2 separate regions of the Homo sapiens genome follow, and region 1 is linked to region 2. The links are contacts of gene promoters, found by promoter capture Hi-C in blood cells and fetal thymus (Javierre and others, 2016). All regions are on one chromosome and are shown on one strand. Each heading gives the region's core, a stretch centred on a gene start or on the middle of the fragment in contact. The rest is flanking DNA. Distances are from core to core; before and after follow the strand shown. Region 1 overlaps ARHGAP30 (Rho GTPase activating protein 30). Region 2 holds the start of PEX19 (peroxisomal biogenesis factor 19).

The links. The method cuts DNA at HindIII sites, captures the fragments that hold promoters and counts their contacts. A CHiCAGO score of 5 or more calls a contact.
Region 1: a contact is called between a fragment that was not itself captured here and the fragment with the promoter of PEX19 in region 2, in 1 of 17 cell types (fetal thymus). The highest score is 7.6, in fetal thymus.

The regions. Positions count from the first base shown.
Region 1 is chr1:161,049,527-161,055,138 of GRCh38, reverse strand. ARHGAP30 (Rho GTPase activating protein 30) reads left to right here. Exons shown (of 12, transcript NM_001025598.2): 4 at 434-516; 5 at 666-773; 6 at 1,754-1,881; 7 at 2,342-2,513; 8 at 2,596-2,699; 9 at 2,776-2,853; 10 at 3,424-3,825; 11 at 5,450-5,612. Among named protein-coding and RNA genes, the nearest start is that of USF1, 6.4 kb to the right of the region's middle. The HindIII fragment of the contact is 8,752 bases long and covers 1-5,612 here.
Region 2 is chr1:160,283,761-160,290,523 of GRCh38, reverse strand. PEX19 (peroxisomal biogenesis factor 19) reads left to right here and starts at 5,391. Exons shown (of 8, transcript NM_002857.4): 1 at 5,391-5,469. The coding sequence starts at 5,400. It overlaps LOC107985219 (a long non-coding RNA gene), which reads right to left and starts at 6,159. Exons shown (of 3, transcript XR_001738265.2): 1 at 5,669-6,159; 2 at 4,163-4,207. It overlaps COPA (coat protein complex I subunit alpha), which reads left to right. Exons shown (of 33, transcript NM_004371.4): 32 at 1-32; 33 at 308-1,930. The coding sequence ends at 367. The HindIII fragment of the contact is 4,290 bases long and covers 5,257-6,763 here.

The sequences.
Region 1 (5,612 bases), core at 2,989-5,488, 770 kb before region 2:
TGCACTTTATTGAGCATAAGAGCACTGAGAGACCCTAAATCCTAGCAGCACCCTGCTCAGTCCACACCGGCTAGGTTGGGGTGGGGGACAGCTTTCCTGGACACACTGAAATAACTCTGTGGTCCCTGGGGCACCCACAGGGTGGCGCCACTGAAGTATCCCAGTACCAGAGCTCTACGGATGGAGGATGGTAAGGCAGCGAGTTGCCAAGTTCACAAAAGCTATTAAGTGGCATAACCAAAATTCAGCTGCCATCTTCGTGGACCCCAATTCTGAGCTCTCTCTACCAAGTCAGTGCACCGCAGATGATGTAGGATGGGGTAGCACAGAGTCCAGTGCACATTGTTCCTGAGAACTTGGTTACAAGCTCTGGGGAGTAAGCAGGGGCATTGCTGGGTCACTGATTCCTGCTTCTTGCACTCTTCTCAATCAGGAGGCTGTAGGAGTGCAATTGGAACCTGAGCGCTTGGTCAAGATCCTAGAGGTGCTTCGGGAACTCCCTGTCCCAAACTACAGGTATGTGACACTCCATATCTGCCCAGCAACCTGAGACAACTCATTCACTCGCTGCCTGGAGCCTTAACTGGGTCCTACTGCTCCCAGGTCCCAGCCCTAATGCCTGCCCTGGGCATTCCCTGTGTGATCCCTGCCCCCGCTTTCTGCAGGACCCTGGAGTTCCTCATGAGGCACTTGGTACACATGGCCTCATTCAGTGCCCAGACCAACATGCATGCTCGCAACCTGGCCATCGTGTGGGCTCCCAACCTGCTGAGGTAGGTGCCTGTGTGAGCAGTGTATGGGGATCCTGTGAGACACTGGCCTTTGGGAGGCTGCTCCCAGGATGAGGTGTGACTGTGTGGGTACACTGGAGAAGGGTGTAGGGCTCACAAAGCCCAGTGAGAAAAGAAGGTTCAAGATCATGGTGGGTCGGATGGGCCCCATCTATTTTAGTCCCTTCTCTGTGATCAAATAAAGTCCCTAAAAGGCAGGACTTTTGTGTTTTCCTACAGTGTGTCACTGAGCTCAGGGACTGGAACATAACAGTTCCATATCAATTTTTTGTTTGTTTTTGAGACAGAGTCTTGCTCTGTTGCCCAGGCTGGAGAGCAGCGGTGCGATCTCAACTCACTGCAAACTCCGCTTCCTGGGTTCAAGGGATTCTCGTGCCTCAGCCTCCTGAGTAGCTGGGATTACAGGCATGAGCCACCATGCCTGGCTAATTTTTGTATTTTTAGTAGAGAGAAGGGGTTTCACCATGTTGGTCAGGCTGATCTTGAACTCCTGACCTCAGGTGATCCACCCACCTCCTCCCTGTGCAAGTGCTAGGATTACAGGTGTGAGCCACTCTGTCCGGCCTCACGCCAAATGTTTGTTGAGCAAAACGTCTTGCAGTCTGTTGGCTGTGCTCACTGTGCATATCACTCACTGTGGTCCAAGACAGACTATGAGAAGTCCTGTAATTCATTATAAAATTCATTATAAACTAGACACCCTGGTGTGCAAAGGAAATAGAGATTAATCCTGAGGCGGGTGTCCAAGAAGGCTTCCTTCCTAGAAGTCTTCAAGTGGCATTTGAGAATTGGAAGAATTATGCATACAATTTAAGAGGTAGAGAAGGGGTTAAGGTCATTCGAGAGAGAGAGAGAGAGAGAGAGAGAGAGAGAGAGAGAGAGAGAATAAGGTATTTTCAGGGAGAATCTGGATTGGGAAGTTTGGTGGGGCTGAGGGGGAGAATAATTCCACATCTCCACAGGTCTAAGGACATAGAGGCCTCAGGCTTCAATGGGACAGCGGCCTTCATGGAGGTGCGGGTACAATCCATCGTCGTGGAGTTCATCCTCACACACGTGGACCAGCTCTTTGGGGGTGCTGCCCTCTCTGGTCAGTGTCCTTCCTGCCCTCCACATATCCCACTGTTGGGGAGTCAAGTTAGTTACAGAGAGCCTTGAAGATCACCTACTTCAGCTGAGTCTCATACAGGGATGTTGGTAGTGGCCACATGGAGAGAACCCTGGGGAGATAATTGTGCAGTCAGGACTTGAGAAGACTTCTTCTGCTGTCAGTCTAGGGCATGGCTTGACCTCTGAGTCACCATCCTGGCTCCCAAGGCTAGTGATGGCTCATATCCACCCCCAGCCCACCAGGCCAACGTTCTCGGATCTCCCAGCCCTCTTTGTCCATGAGGGCACTCTTTTGAGGTGATGGACATGGAGGCACTGTCTTCAGGGGCTTCTGAATATATCCCTAACCTGGTAGTTGGCGAGGGGTGATGAAGGATTGGGTGCCTGAGGTCCCTCTCTTGGCTCTGTTCCTGGCTGGCCAATTCCTTTTCTTTTCCCAGGTGGTGAGGTGGAGAGTGGGTGGCGATCGCTTCCAGGGACCCGGGCATCAGGCAGCCCCGAGGACCTTATGCCCAGGCCACTGCCTTATCACCTGCCTAGCATACTGCAGGCTGGCGATGGACCCCCACAGATGCGGCCCTACCATACTATCATCGAGATTGCAGAGCACAAGTAAGGCCTCCTTCCTGGGCCTTCCTCCCCTGCACCGACCTTCATGTTCCAACCTCCAATTATGCCCCTCCATTCTTTGTAGGAGGAAGGGGTCTTTGAAGGTCAGGAAGTGGAGGTCTATCTTCAATTTAGGTCGCTCTGGCCATGAGACTAAGCGTAAACTTCCACGGGGGGCTGAGGACAGGGGTAAGTCTGGGGAGATGGGGGGAGCTCTGCTGAGGGTGCACAAGGCCCTGGCTCTACACACATCCCTGTCTTACAGAGGATAAATCCAACAAGGGGACACTGCGGCCAGCCAAAAGCATGGACTCACTGAGTGCTGCAGCTGGGGCCAGTGATGGTGAGTATAGGGGTGCATTTCTGTGTGTATGTGTGTGTGCTATGTGACCAGCGTGGGCTTGTGTGTACATGCAGCCAACTGTGTTCAATAATTTCAAAAAATATTTAATGAGTGCCTATTATATACCAGCCACATTGTAAATGTAGCTGAATGCTACGGTGAGTTGATTGTCTAATCTATGACTTTGTTGATGAGTGTTCGTATGGGATGGGACAGCATGGGTATGTGGTGGTGGTGGTGGTGGTGGTGGTGGTGGTGGTGGTGGTGGTGGTGGTGGTGGTGGTGGTGGTGGTGGTGGTGGTGGTGGTGGTGGTGGTGACAACGGCCAGTGACTGTATCTGCAGGGAAGGAAGGGAGTTCCCTAGGTATGTGAAGGTGAGGTGATCTTTGACCTACTGGCTGGGTGAAAAGTTTGCAGTAGTGATCAAAAGAAGCTGGGCCTGGTGCCTTCCAGGCTATCGTTGCTTTCAAGCCTGAGAAAGCAGAGAGCATTCTCCAGAGCCTTCTTGAGATGTCTAGGCCCCTTGGAGTTTAGGCTATTGCCTACCTGGCCCTCTTTTTCCTCCACAGAGCCAGAGGGGCTGGTGGGGCCCAGCAGCCCCCGGCCAAGCCCATTGCTGCCTGAGAGCTTGGAGAACGATTCTATAGAGGCAGCAGAGGGTGAACAGGAGCCTGAGGCAGAAGCACTGGGTGGCACAAACTCTGAACCAGGCACACCACGAGCTGGGCGGTCAGCCATCCGGGCTGGGGGCAGCAGCCGTGCAGAACGCTGTGCTGGTGTCCACATCTCAGACCCCTACAATGTCAACCTCCCGCTACACATCACCTCTATCCTCAGTGTGCCCCCGAACATCATCTCTAACGTTTCCTTGGCCAGGCTCACCCGTGGCCTTGAGTGCCCTGCTCTACAGCACCGGCCAAGCCCTGCCTCTGGCCCTGGCCCTGGCCCTGGCCTTGGCCCTGGCCCCCCAGGTGAGGACCCATTGATTGACCAAGACTAGGAAAGGGGACTGGAACTCTAGGCTGAAGCTCTGATGCTGGAAGATCCACCCTAGGAAGGGCAGAGGCCTCAGCCCTTGGGCTTTGGGGTGGTTACCTTTAGCTGCCTCCCTAGATTCAGGATTAGGGAAATCCAGTAATATTATCAGGCTATGTGAAATCTATGGAGAGGAGATCTCTAGCAGCCTTCAGAACATTGATGTACCCAAGAATAGGGGCCTGTGTCAGAAACATACAGCAGGGATTACTAAGGACAAATGTGGGAATATATAATAGATGGATGGGTAACAATAATAGTAACATCAATACTATCAGCTAACATTTAGCAAGAGTTTATTAAGTACCAGCCAGGCGCCGTGGCTCATGCCTGTAAACCCAGCACTTTGGGATGCCTAGGCAGGCAGATCACCTGAGGTCAGGAGTTCAAGACCAGCCTGCCCAACATGGCGAAACCCCATCTCTACTAAAAATGCAAAAAACTGGCCAGGTGTGGTGGCAGATGCCTGCGGTCCCAGCTCCTTGGGAGGCTGAGGCAGGAGAATCGCTTGAACCCAGGAGGCAGAGGCTGCAGCGAGCCGAGATCACGCCACTGCACTCTAGCCTGGGCGACAAGAGCAAAACTCTGTCTCAAATTAAAAAAAAAAAAACAAAAAACAGTTTATTAAGTACCAAGTGCTAGGCCAGGCACGGTGGCTCACACCTGTAATCCCAACACTTTGGGAAGCTGAGGAGGGTGGATCACTGGAGGTCAGGAGTTCGAGACCAGCCTGGTCAACATGGTGAAACCCCGTCTCTACTAAAAAAAATTAAAAAAAAATTAGCCAGGCGTGCGTGGTGAGGCATGCCTGTAATCCCAGAGACTCAGAAGGCTGAGGCAGGAGAATTGGTTCAACCCAGGAGGTGGAGGTTGCAGTGAGCTGAGATTGCGCCACTGCACTCCAGCCTGGGAGACATAGCAAGACTCCGTCTCAAAAAAAAAAAAAAAAAAAAAGGTCCAAGTGCTGTGATTGCAGGATTGGTTTGTTTCATTTTCTCATAATCTTATGACATAGGTATTGTTAGCCTTATGTTACAGCAGTGGAAACTGAGACTTAGGTTAATCAATTTGCAATTGATTTAGGTAGAAGTAGCAGAGCTAGGATCTGATCCTTGCTCTGACTCCAGTTCCTGAAGTGTCACTCATGAGAAGTCCTGAGGCAGGATAGGATAGTGGGTAAGAACATGGGCTATAGAGTTAAGTAGACTTGGGTTCAAATTTTGGCTGTACTGCTTATTCATTACATGACCTTAGACAAATTGCTTAATCTCTCTGAGCCTCAGTTTCCTCATATGTAAAATGAGGACAATACCCCACATAATAGTTTGGAGGAAAAAATGCCAATGCATTGTAAAATACATAGCACAGTGCTTGGCACCTGGTAGGGTCTCAATTAAGGTAGCAAGCCAATAACTAGGGACATTGGTCTGAAAGGATCAGTCATGCAGAGTAGCAATGCTGGGAGTGCTGGGCCCCTGCTATATCAATGCTAGGAGGACTCACACTGAAAAGGGTCAGGGCTTGACCTTTGTATTCCTGGGACTACTTCTCCCCCAACAGATGAAAAGTTGGAAGCAAGTCCAGCCTCAAGTCCCCTGGCAGACTCAGGCCCAGACGACTTGGCTCCTGCCCTGGAGGACTCGCTGTCCCAGGAGGTGCAGGACTCCTTCTCCTTCCTAGAGGACTCAAGCAGCTCAGAACCTGAGTGGGTGGGGGCAGAGGA
Region 2 (6,763 bases), core at 4,142-6,641:
AGTTCAAAGGTCAAATCTGCAGGGTCACCACAGTAAGTACTGTCCTCAATAAATATATCTAGGATATTGAGCGAAGGGGAAAAAGAAAGAAACATGGTGGTCCTTTTTTTCTTCTTGTGCTTGTCCCCTGCTCCCTGAGGCAGTGACACTGGAGAAAGCTAGAGCATCTCCCCACTGCTCTTGGCCAGTCAGTGATGAACACCCCAATACCTGTCTACTGTGCCCATTGAGGGGTATAGGGAATACATTTTCTAGGGTTCTCAATCTTACAAATCTCTAACTTGTTCCTTTGTTTGTTTTTCCACAGGTGACAGAGATTGGCAAAGATGTGATTGGTTTAAGGATCAGTCCTCTGCAGTTTCGCTAAGGCCCCCTTTGTGTGCATGGGTCAGTCACCATATGTTCCCCCCAGAGAATGTGTCTATATCCTCCTTCTAACAGCACCTTCCCCCTGCAGCTACTCTTCAGATCTGGCTCTCTGTACCCTAAAACCTAGTATCTTTTTCTCTTCTATGGAAAATCCGAAGGTCTAAACTTGACTTTTTTGAGGTCTTCTCAACTTGACTACAGTTGTGCTCATAATTGTCCTTGCCTTTCCAGCTTAATTATTTTAAGGAACAAATGAAAACTCTGGGCTGGGTGGAGTGGCTCATACCTGTAATCCCAGCACTTTGGGAGGCTACGGTGGGCAGATCATCTGAGGCCAGGAGTTCGAGACCTGCCTGGCCAACATGGCAACACCCCGTCTCTAATAAAAATATAAAAATTAGCCTGGCATGGTAGCATGCGCCTATAGTCCCAGCTGCTCAGGAGGCTGAGGCATGAGAATCGCTTGAACCTAGGAGGTGGAGGTTGCATTCAACTGAGATCATACCACTTCATTCCAGCCTGGGTGACAGAGCAAGACTCTGTCTCAAAAAAAAAAAAAAGGAAAACTCTGTGATGGACATTTGTTTAGTAAATCCCTTCAGTATTTATCCCTCCTTTCCCCACAGCAGCTTTCTTTCCTGTCAACTAGAAAGGAGCAGGATGTAATAAATACATTTTGGTGTGACTAGGCCACACCAACTCTTAATCATCTCCCATTTTCCTTAGACATTTAAATTTCAAGGCAGGTACCCTCTGTGTACTCAGAAATTTGAAGAAGTTATTTGGTTTTCCAAAATGCACACTGCGGGTTATTGATTTGTTCTTTACAACTATTGTTCTCATATTTCTCACACTAAATAAATCTCTATGAGAGCTTCTTGACTTGGCCATTTATTTCTTGGACACTCTCATGTTCTTGTTCACCCATGCAGGCACCCCACCAAAGTACATATCTTCCTTCCAGTAATAATTTTTAATTACAAAATAAACATCCACTATTGGAAAAAAAAAAAAAAAGCTAGCCGGGCATGGTGGTGGGTGCCTGTAATCCCAGCTACTCTGGAGGCTGAGGCAGAGGATTGCTTGAACCCGGGAGGCGGAGGTTGCAGTAAGCTGAGATCGCGCCACCGCACTCCAGCCTGGGCGACAGAGTGAGACTCCATCTCAAAAAAAAAGAAAGAAAAAAAGAAGCACATGTTTTTCATAGGGTATATATGAGGACCTAAACTGCTGTGAAAATGATAGAAAGCAAGTAGCTCCCTTATTCTGTTTTTGATTGCAGCCTTTTATCTTTTGCTAATTATAGCAATATTTATTGAGCACCTGCCATGTGACTGTCACTGTTCTAGATATTTTACATGTAATATACAGATAAAAGAATAGTACTTTATATATATTACAATGATACAATGATTACATTAACAATACAATATTTTGCTTGTCATATGCTAAGAATAATTGGGTAGAGTGACATTACTGTGCCTTCGATTAAAATAAGTACTTTTTTGCGTGTTAAATTCATGTTTTCAATAAATAATAAATGCATATAGTTGAAAAATCAGTAAATATAAAAAGCTATTCTGTGACAAATCTTTCCACCCTTTCATCAGCCACCCAGTTCCTATCACCTTCCCCTAAACAGGTAACCACTGTTACCAGCTTTCTTACATCCTTCCAGAAATTTTATATATATATATATATACACACACACACATATACATGCACATGCTGATATCACTATGCCATTCTCTATCTCCTTTTATACACAAATGAAACCACACTATTTAACAATTTTGTACCTTTGTTTTTTCATTTAACATTTTTGGTATTTTCTCGTATCAATATATTAGGGAGCTTCACTTTGTTTTTTACTTCTCTTCATACTATACGTTGTATTTTTTAGCTTTATCTTAAGAGTTGCTTTTTTAAACAGCATCCCTAAACTAAGGCTGCCTTCTCAACAGAGTACATACTACTAATGAGATTGTGCCATTGCACTCCACCCTGGGGTACAAGAGCGAGACTTCGTCTCAAAAAAAAAAAAAATGTACATATTAGCCGGGAGTGGTGGCTCACGCCTGTAATCCCACCACTTTGGGAGGCCAAGGCAGGCAGATCACCTGAGGTCAGGAGTTCGAGAACAGCCTGGCCAACACGGTGAAACCCTGTTTCTACGAAAAATACAAAAATTAGCTGGGTAGGGTGGCAGGCACCTGTAATCCCAGCTACTCAGGAGGCTGAGGCAGGAGAATTGCTTGAACCCGGGAGGCGGAGGTTGCAGTGAACTGAGATCACACCATTGCACTCCAGCCTAGGGGACAAGAGCAAGACTTTGTCTTAAAAAAAAAAAAAGGCCGGGCGTGGTGGCTCACGCCTGTAATCCCAGCACTTTGGGAGGCCAAGGCAGGCGGAACACGAGGTCAGGAGATCGAGACCATCCTGGCTAACATGGTGAAACCCTGTCTCTACTAAAAATACAAGATGTGAAATAATTGTGACTCCCAGGCAAGAATTAGAATTTGTTCGATAAACTGTGGAGAACCATTAAATCCTTAAGGAACAGAGTGATATGAAAGCGTTATAAAATACTGTTATTCAACAGTATTCGCTATACATTAGAAGGGCAGAAGGAGCAGTCAGTAGGTCAGTAAATACTGAGATGAGATGTTAGGAATATTAGGAGTAAAAATAGAAAAGCAGAAAGAAGTTTAAGAAATAATGCAAAGAAAGAATCATGCTTGTTTTTGACTCCATTTTAATTATCATCTATTATCTTTTAATTAACATGCTTATATTACATTAGTTTAAAGCCAATTGACCAAGTGTAGTGGCTCACATCTATAATCCCAGTACTTTGGGAGGCCAAGGTGGGCATATCACTTGAGGTCAGGAGTTAAAGACCAGCCTGGCCAATATGGTGAAACACTGTCTCTACTAAAAATACAAAAATTAGTTGGGCATGGTGGCGCGAGCCTGCAGACCCAGCTACTCAGGTGGCTGAGACAGGAGAATCACTTGAACCCGGGAGGTGGAGGCTGCAGTGAGCCAAAATTGCACCACTGCACTCCAGCCTGGGCAACAGTGAAACTCTGTCTCAAAAAATAAAACCAATAGAGATGCCTGTTGATAGACAAGTTTTCTTTTTTTGACGTGCTTGTTACAACTATAGCCATATTGGAGATACACGTGTAAGCAGTTTGAATGAGAAAGTCTGGAATAAATTATGTTGCAGGTGTTGGAAAACAGGTTTATCAGGAAAGGATTTGATTACAGAAGTTTAGAATTGTAAAGGACTTCAAAAGTGATTAGTGGCAGAATTGGGGCTGGAATTTAGGCTTTCTAACTCACAGTTCATAATATTTTGATCCCAAAACACACTACTTGTGGTTGGAAGAAAACAGGTTTTGCAGATATGATTTTACAAGTCTGTGCCCTATCTGTGAAGGACATAGTAAGTGCTTGATCTGGTGCTTGATGCAGTACTCAAATGTGTGTTTAGGAAGCTAAGAATGAAAGTGATGAGGTGACTTAACACAGGATTTTTTTTCATTTAAAATTCTTACCTTGTATCATACTGTGTGTATATCTCATCATACCTCCGGCTCACCCCCACTTAGCTACCTTACAGCAGGGGGTGGTCCTGATTTATCTCTCTGTCCTCACTGTGCCCAGAACAAGACCTTAATAATAGGTGCTCTCTAAGTGCGAAAACAGATTTGTATGTGAAACAGTTGCTACATTCTGACATCTGAATAGAACAATTCCAAAGGAGGAAAGGGACGTCTAGAGTTACCTCTATCTGAGCATTCCCCGTGTTCACTCAGTTGGAGGTTGGGTTCTGTGTGGAGAAAAGGAGATTGTTCAGGGAAAGTAAGTCTATTACTACTGCATTCGAATTGCCCTGCTCAGTCCAAGGTACCAGAGGCTCTCTTAATAACATGGAGTTCTAAGTTCCTGGCCGGCCCTGTGTCCTTTAATCAAACAGTTCTAATAGATAATAGGAAATGAGAGATGCCACTAGATTGGGCAGACAGATGTGCCTGATTAGGGACTGCGAGAGCAAAGAGTGGCCAATGAATGCCTACTAAGTTTTAAACCCTAGCCTGGGAGTTGGGCTTTACAGCAGTGAAGACAACAGACGAAAATCTTTGCGTTCATGGTGTTTAAATTCTGCAGGGTGGGGAGCGGAGAATAAAAAAGTACGGTAGATAGTATGTCAGATACTGTTCAGTGTTAGGAAGAAAAGGAACGGGAATGGCCAAGGAAAGCGTTTCAGAAAAGATAATATTTGAGGGAAACAATGAAGTGAAGCCGGGCGCAGTGGCTCACGCCTGTAATCCCAGCACTTCGGGAGGCCGAGGTGGGCGGATCAGCTGAGGTCCGGAGTTCGAGACCAGCCTGGCCAACCAGCCTGGCCAACATGTTAAAACCCCGTCTCTACAAAAATTAGTCGGACGTGGTGTCGCGCGCCTGTCATCCCAGCTACACGGGAGGCTGAGGCAGGAAGAATCGCTTGAACCCGGGAGGCCAAGGCTGCAGTGAGCCGAGATGGCGCCACTGCATTCCAGCGTAGGCGACAGAGCAAGATTCCTTCTCAAAAAAAAATAAAAAAAAAAAAATGAAGTGAGAGAAAGTAGTATGTTATGTGCCATAATTGTCATATCAATTATATATGTTTAGATTCTGGTTATTTGTAGGCAGTTTGTCTCAATCTGGCCTACTCACAGCTCAGGAAAAAATAATGAAAGAGCTTCGCCAGGTAATTTGGGAAGTTGAAAGAAAGGAGTCCGGGCCTCTAAAACCAGACAGAAAATAACCCTATCTTATCCCTAATTCTGTTTCACAGGAGAAAAGGGAAAAATACCCAAAACACAAACACTCAAAGCTTCCTGGCCCTTTAAAAATGGCGGTTCCGCACTGGTCAACAATACCATTGGTTACCCGAGGCAGAAGAGGGCGGGAGCGAAGGGGTGGAGGGCGTGTCGGCACCGAGGAGGTCCCGCCTCCTACGGCAAGTCGGAGGTAGCAAGATGGCCGCCGCTGAGGAAGGCTGTAGTGTCGGGGCCGAAGCGGACAGGGAATTGGAGGAGCTTCTGGAAAGTAAGAGCCCATAGTGGGAAAGGCCCGAAGAGGGCACGTGTGAGGACCCATTCTGGGGGTTAAGTGAACCTGAGATATTAGGGACGGGCAGGAGAGGCTCTCCAAAGGTTAAATGGGGGCGGAGAGTCTGACCCCCGAGCCCCCCAAAAATCTCTGGGTCATCCTGCCCCACCCCGGCGACTGGAGCTGGGGAGCTCACCTGGGGTCCCTCAGTGGTCCGGATGGTGGATGTTTCCGCAGGACGGCGTTTCATGATACCTCTTCAAACTCCTCTTTAGGTTACTGAGTTCTTAAAGTTCGACTTCAGCAGCAGTAGCAGCAGCAGCAGCATTTGGTTCTTGCTGGGTAGCGAACTACGCACTCACTGATTGCTTACATTAACTCCTAGCAAGCTCGTGGCCGGTCCTTGTGTGCCTCGTCCTGTCTTCCTTAACACGAAAGACACTTTTCTCCTCCTAGTCCTTTTCTCTTTCTCTCGTTAGGCCCCTTAACAGTTCTTTCATCTTGTCAGTAGCTCAAGCGGACTCCTTTCCCTTATTTTGAGAAACTGAGGATGTGGCGATTTCAGGGGAAAGCAGTTCACCCTCCTGAAAGACGGGGGATGTTTTCTTAGCATTACTCTCCACTCCCCTGTTGACTTCCTGCCCAGAGTAGGGCCAGTGCTCTCTCCCTAGGCCTGGCGAACAGAATGGTGGTGAGGACACAGGCTTTTCAGGGCAGAGGTGAATTTGTAATCGCTTGCTCAATCACGGAGATGTGGGCAGGCAGAAAAATGAACAGAAACCCTGAGGAGTGCCAAGTGACTGTGTAAATTAGTGTACGGTTATCTGCAGAGATCAGGCCAAAGGGAGCTCTAGAAGGTTGTTGGGGAGCACTAAACTGGAGAATAAGAGAAGATAGTTTAATGCCGTACCATGGAGTCTGGTATGTAGTCCCTCAGTCTGTGCTGGTACCAGTACCAACAGGAAGCTGGGTGGGATGTCCTGTGCTTTCTCACCAAGTTATTCCTTTTAGAGCTCCAGAGTGAGTTCAGAGGGATGAGGACATCTGTGTTCTCTACTACTGTTGGGTATTTGTATGGGATTTCTAGGGAATCGTTAGGGTGTGGCAAGGGAGACACTATAGATGGAGATGTCTCTGCAGAACTTTTTAATCCTCTCCTCCCAGCTCTGAGATGGACATTTGTTCCACCTTAAGGGATTTCTTTGCCTTTGCTCACAATAAATTAGGTAATCCAGAAGGAAGTAGGAGGCTCATTGAGGGTGGTCTGGGGAGGTGGGGGACTCAAGGAGGA